Linked DNA regions of Homo sapiens: region 2 is linked to region 1. The links are contacts of gene promoters, found by promoter capture Hi-C in human tissues and cell types (Jung and others, 2019). All regions are on one chromosome and are shown on one strand. Each heading gives the region's core, a stretch centred on a gene start or on the middle of the fragment in contact. The rest is flanking DNA. Distances are from core to core; before and after follow the strand shown. Region 1 holds the start of CES3 (carboxylesterase 3). Region 2 overlaps CBFB (core-binding factor subunit beta).

Evidence for each region. Contacts are between HindIII fragments. The study calls those that stand out against the background at their distance.
Region 2: a contact is called between a fragment that was not itself captured here and the fragment with the promoter of CES3 in region 1, in 2 of the 25 tissues and cell types used here (IMR-90 fibroblasts and dorsolateral prefrontal cortex).

What each region holds. Positions count from the first base shown.
Region 1 is chr16:66,959,810-66,963,010 of GRCh38, forward strand. CES3 (carboxylesterase 3) reads left to right here and starts at 1,457. Exons shown (of 13, transcript NM_024922.6): 1 at 1,457-1,580. The coding sequence starts at 1,499. RefSeq lists enhancers at 1,099-1,348, 1,153-1,654, 1,439-1,648. The HindIII fragment of the contact is 25,956 bases long and covers 1-3,201 here.
Region 2 is chr16:67,087,863-67,091,063 of GRCh38, forward strand. The region is part of intron 5 of CBFB (core-binding factor subunit beta); the gene reads left to right. Among named protein-coding and RNA genes, the nearest start is that of PHAF1, 20 kb to the right of the region's middle. The HindIII fragment of the contact is 5,567 bases long and covers 1-3,201 here.

The sequences.
Region 1 (3,201 bases), core at 207-2,706:
GGGAAGATTCAGGAAGCTGCAATGGTTTTTTATGAATTTTTTTTTAGAGAGAGAGTCTTGCTATGTTGCCCAAGCTGGCCTCAAGCTCCTGGGCTGAAGCAATCCTCCTGCCTCAGCCGCCTGAGTAGCTGGGACTACAGACTTGTGCCACAATGCCCAGCTGGCACTAGTTATTTTTGGCAGAAGGGAAGTTTCATCCTAAAGCCTGTCTCTTCAGCTCTGGGTGCCAGCTGGAGCCCCGGAAGAGGATCTGGCATCGTGTTTAGGCACAACCCTCACTCTGTCTTTCACTGGGCCAGCAAATATCTATCCATCCTCCCACCGCCTACTCCCAGCCAGCCATGTTCCTGACACTGAGGCCCAGAAGTGAGTCCTGCCCTCCCTGGGGGTGGGAGCCTCCTAAGCCAGCAGAGAGACAGATGCCCTGCAGATCCCCGCCCCGGTCAAGAGCAGGCTTCCATCAGTTCTGGTTCCCAGACTCTCCTCTCCTCAGGCTTCCATGAGTTCTGGTTCCAAGCCCCTCCCCTCCTCTCCCCTCCCCTCCCTCCCTCCCTCCCTCTCTCTCTTTCTTTCTCTCTCTATTTTTCTTTTTTCTCTTTTTGTTTCTTTCTCTTTTTCTGTCTCTTTTTCTTTCTCTCTCTCCTTTCTCTCTCTCCTTCTTTCTCTCTCTCCTTTCTTTCTTCTCTCTCTCTCTTTCTCTCTTTCTTTGTCTTGCTCTATAGCCTAGCCTAGAGTGCAGTGGCATTATCACAGCTCACTGCAGTCTCGACAACCTGGGCTCAAGTGATCCTCTCACCTCAGCCTCCCAAGTAGCTGGGACCACAGGCATGCACCATCACACCTGGCTAATTTTTTTTATTTTTTCTAGAGACGTGTCTCCCTGTGTTGCCCAGGCTGGTCTCAAACTCCTGGGCTCAAGCGATCTTCCTGCCCCATCCTCCTAAAGCACTGGGATTACAGGTATGAGCCACCACACCCAGTCCCAAGCCTCATGTTTTCACACACACACTCACACACACATGCAAACATGTACCCTCACTTCAATGCTATGAGGTGGGTCCTATTATCATCACTGTTTTATTTTCTTTCACATTTTAACATGAGATTTGGAGGGGACAAAACATCCAAACCATATCAAGCCCTCACCTCAGGCTGGGTTGCCCACTCGGAGTGGCACCCCAGGGTCACTGGCCACCACTTCCTAGGGTCAGTGATGTGGTCACCTTGGGATGAACGCACAGGATTTCATGGAGATCACCAAGTCAGGAGAGCTGGAATTTGAAAACAGTGGGACGGGGAGGGCTGTCATATCAACCAGGCCTCTGCAGGGCACTCATCTAGCCCTGCCTCTGGCTCAGCCTGAGCATGGGGCTGGCCACCAGCTAGGTGGCGCTGTCCTTGGAGGTTCTATATCACAGCCCTTTAGAGATCGGTGGTGCTGAAGGGCAGGGATCTTATTCCACCTTCTGAAGCTTCTGTCGAACCAGTTGTAAGGAGAATGGAGAGAGCAGTGAGAGTGGAGTCCGGGGTCCTGGTCGGGGTGGTCTGTCTGCTCCTGGCATGCCCTGCCACAGCCACTGGTAAGACACACCTGCTGGGCCTGCAGAGGTACTTGGTGTGGAGGAGTCAAGAGTGAGACAGGGACAGGGAGCAGTGGGCCGACCGCTCAGGAAACAGTCCTGTTTGGAGGCAGACCAGGGGTTGTGCATTCTCTCTGGGCAGGCGCTCTGCTCTTGCTGTATTTGTTTCGTTGTTTTTGTTGTTGTTGTTTGAGACAGAGTTTTGCTCTTGTTACCCAGGCTGGAGTGCAATGGCGCGATCTCGGCTCACTGCAACCTCCGCCTCCTGGATTCAAGCGATTCTCCTGCCTCAGCCTCCTGAGTAGCTGGGATTACAGGCACCTGCCACCATGGCCGGCTAATTTTTGTATTTTTAGGAGAGATGGGGTTTCACCATGTGGGCCAGGCTGGTCTCAAACTCCTGACCTCAGGTGACCCACCTGCCTCGGCCTCCCAAAGTGCTGGGATTACAGGCGTGAGCCACCGCACCTGGCCTGTCTTTATGTCTTAAGGGGGCCTGAGATTTGTTTTAATGAAGTATAGTAAGACAAGCAGATATGCAAATGACTATCATGAGGGAAGGAGTTTGCTCGTAGTTCCCTGTGAACAGGAAGCAGGCCATGCCACATAGGGCCACAGAGGGAAGCACCAGGTGGCATCAGCCAGGAGGCAGAGGGAGCAGGGGGAAAATGTGGGCAAGCCCCTTTGACACGGTTGCCACGGGAAGGAATAGGCAAGGCAGGCTAAAGAGGTTTACGATTGGCAGCAGGCTCTGGGGAAAGGGGCTGTCCCCAGCCAGCTTCCTGGTACCCGGCTCTGTGGTGATTATGGCTGGTGGATGGCAGCCAGGAGCTGAGAGCTGTATAAAGGAGGTGGTTGGGTATGGCTCTGGACTGGTTTGCCTTTGCTCCCTAGAGAGATGCCTGCCAATTCCACCTCCCCAGAGAGCTGCCTCCTATCTCTAGGAATTGTCTAGCCTGGGAGAGGCAGTCCTCCAGTCTTAGTCTGTTTGTGTTGTTGTAAAAGAATACAGGAAGCTGGGTAATTCACAAAGAAAAGAAGTTTAGTTAGGCCACAGTTCTGCAGGCCGTACAAGAAACATGGTGCCAGCTGGGCATGATGGCTCACACCTGTCGTCCCAGCACTTGGGGAGGCTGAGGTGAAAGGATTGCTTGAGCCCAGGGGTTTGAGACCAGCCTGGGCAACATAATGAGACCCCATCTCTACTTTTTAAAAAATAATTCAGGGCTGGGCATGATGGCTCATGCCTGTAATGCCAGCACTTTGGGAGCCCCAGGTGGATGGATTACTTGAGGTCAGGAGTTCGAGACCAGCCTGGCCAACATGATGAAACCCCGTCTCTACTAAAAATACAAAAATTAGCCAGGCGTTGTGGTGCACACCTGTAATCCCAGCTACTTGGGAGGCTGAGGCCCTGGAGTCGCTTGAACTCGGGAGTCAGAGGTTGCAGTGAGCCAAGATCGTGCCACTGCACTCCAGCTTGGTCAACAGAGCTAGACCCTGTCTCAAACACAAAAAATAAAAACAAAGAAATGGGCAAGTGGCTGGCCCCAAGGCACAAGGCCCTAGTGGCAGGCCCGGTCTGGCCTGGAGTGGAGTGGTAGTGACTCTCAGGCAGGCA
Region 2 (3,201 bases), core at 232-2,731, 130 kb after region 1:
TGCTTGGTATGTGTATGCCTACAGTAAATAATAGCTCTGAAGTACTTCTTTTTAGCACTAAAAGCTCCACCATAATGCTGGTTCCAGTTAATTGAATTATTTGGCTAACAAGAACATCCTTTTAGTTCTCTGAAGTGTATCAAGGCACTTTCCCTACATTATGACCTAGAGCATAGAGAAAAGAGTTATATTTTCATCAATGATTTAAGATCCTGTAGTCCCTTATGGCAGTAATTTAAAACATCAGTTCTTGTAGAGAACTGTCATCTGGAAAATTGGGCTGGAATCTGACTCCAGCACATGCACTGGCAATCACATAGGGGAGTTTGGGGTTTGTGTGTCTTTTGGCACTTAGCGTGTATATATTTTGCTTCTTTGTCTTTTTTTTCCATCCATAAAAAATTCCTAATGTCACCTTATTTTCTTGCAGTTTACCTTCTTTTTCCTAAAAAGAGAATATTGGAGAAAAATGTTGTTTCCCCTCTGTGATTCAGATTATCTTTAGAGATTCAAACATCATCTAATCTAACATTATTACAGTTGATAAAACTGAGAGTCTCCAAAAAATTAATTGACTTGCTCTCCCTCAAATATTTGGTTAATGGAAGAAACAGTGAGTATTTAAACCAGTTTCCTAACCAGGAGGCCTGCACAAATACAGCTTAGCGCTGGGAAATTAATTTCCACACCACCCGTAAAGATGCTTAAGCTGAAAAATAAAATCTGCCAGGAGAGATTAAGAACCGTTTTGCCTGGAATAGAAAAGGCTGAGGCAGAAAAGAAAAATAATGGTTCTAGTGGGTGGTCCTGATGCCTGACTGGAGAGGAGGGCCAGAGAACAGTGGTAACTCATGGGTGGCAGCAAGTCAGTAAACGGCCTGTGGAAGCTTGAGATCCTAGCAGCACAGAGGTTTAGGGATGTCCTCCACTGTTTGGATAACTTCTGAGGCCTCCAGCCCTGCCATGCTAAACTTGTAACAGTGGTGCTCGTGAGTATTTAATCTATGTGTAAGGTTAAGATTACTAAGGGGGGAAGCAGAACTCCAAGTGGTTGGTGGCCCAAGGGGTTTTGATTTTCAACAGTGTCTTTTAACCTGAAACTAGTTATAAAATTCCTTGAGCATTCTTCCATTTCACCATGTGTAAAATTTAGAAAGTTTTCGATCCTTCATGATAGGATTTAGTGTTTTCTTTTTCTCATTTTTCTGGAACAGCCTATTTCAGTAGTACAATATTTTCTTTACCTTTCAGAGGTAATGGCAGATTATCATTAACTTGAAATGAGAAACTATAGTGAAATGAAGAAGCATTGTTTATGTTAGTAACCTTTACCAAATACTCTTGTCATTGATATACATTAAAATGATATACATAAGGTACACAGTACTGTGTATAATATCTTACTCTCTGGGTATTTTTCCTACTCTGTGGGTAATTTTTGTTTAAATGTGCATAGTCATTCTCTAGTAGAATATCTAAGAAACTGGAACTAGAAACTATGGGGGAGAACCAGGTACCTGGGGGACAAAATAAGCAAATTATTATTTTTCACTGTGTATCTTCTGTACCTTATGAATTTTGTATCATTAATTATTTAGAAAAAAATAAAATTTGCTTTCAGTATTACACAGAATAATGAAAACAGAAGATTCTAGACCTTGCTATCTCTATTCTCTGGCATATAGGCTGTTTTTTATGTGAAACCCTTCCTCCATTTGAAATTGTATACAGAGCCCCACTGTATAAAACAGTTTTTTTAAAAGGCACTGCTCTGGGCAAAGCCAGGGTAGGGATTGTTCTGGTCTCCCTCTGGTGTCCCTGGGGGTGTTTTTACGGAACCCAGTGGGTGGCAGAACATAATGAGGACTCTGGATGTAGTGGAATGAGCACAAGGTTTTGCATCCCGGCTCCACTACTTGTTGCCATATAGCATTGAGAAAGTTGCTTATTCTCATTGAGCCTCATCAGTAAAAACTCCCTCCCAGGTTGTTGCAGAGCTCAGTATCTGAGGCTTAGAATGGGGACTCAGTGGAAGCCAGTTTCTTTACCCCTTCTTTCTGTGTACTTGGCTCACAATATATCTGGAGTGGCAGGAAAACAGTAAAAGTAGTCATATCCTAACTTTAGACTATGAAAGTCGAAGATACTATTTTGCCAAGCCATTTTAGATTCTGGTGTTTTTTGTTTGGTTGGTTGGTTTGGTTTTTTAAAACAACCAGTAAAGGATTTTGGACTTTTCTTGGCTCTGTTGGAGGCTACCAGTTACTGTGGGGATTGAGTAGTGACTAGAAGTGGGTATGAAGAGAACTTCCCATGTTCTGGTAATGTTAGTTCTTGACCTGGGTGCTAGTTAGGTGGGTGTGTTCGCTTTGTGAAAATTCTTCATTACATACTTAACAATTTGGGCACTATTCTGTACTTGTATAAAAAGAAGGCTTTTAAAAATAAAAAATAATCACAGACGTTACTTTTGTGAAATGCTCTCCATTGGCATCTGTTGCTATATAGAAGCATCCTAGCACCTTTTCTGTCTGAGAATCCTTCCTTGATCTGAAAATGTTGACATGTTTCCCATGACCTTTCTTTTTGGGGTATATATGTCTATAACTAATTCAAATGTCTTTTGTGAAGGAAGATGGAGGTTAATAAAGGACAGATTTCATGCTCTGATCATAGTTGAGTTAGAAAGATAGCAACTTGTACACTAGTCTCTGTTTCCAGAGACTGCCTTCAACTTGATTGGCCTTTTGACCTAAAACTGTAATATAGCACTCTTGGCTTTTAACTCAGCTCCAAGGTGACAGGGTGCTTAAAGATATTTTCTCTATTATCTTAAAAATGCCTACATTTGGTTAGATTATAAAGTGGCAGCAAATAAATGGTTGTCTTTAATGTCAGAGAATGGGTAAATTATTGTTTATCCTACTATGAGCAATTTTAATACAATTCAAATCATAGAATTTTATGTGGAAACTATTTGGAAATAAAAACAGGCAAAAAGTTTTATGTGGTTTTTGTATTTGTATTTTGCATAGTTTTGGGGCCTTCAATTCTGTGTGGTCCAAGAAAAAAATCTCAGCCTCTATTTATTTTAAATTTCCGAAGACTTCAGTTTTCAAATTATTTAACTCTACCAATATTCTTTCTTGTGTATGGATAAATCAGCATGAGAATATGTCTGTGCTAGGCCTTCCTGGGTTG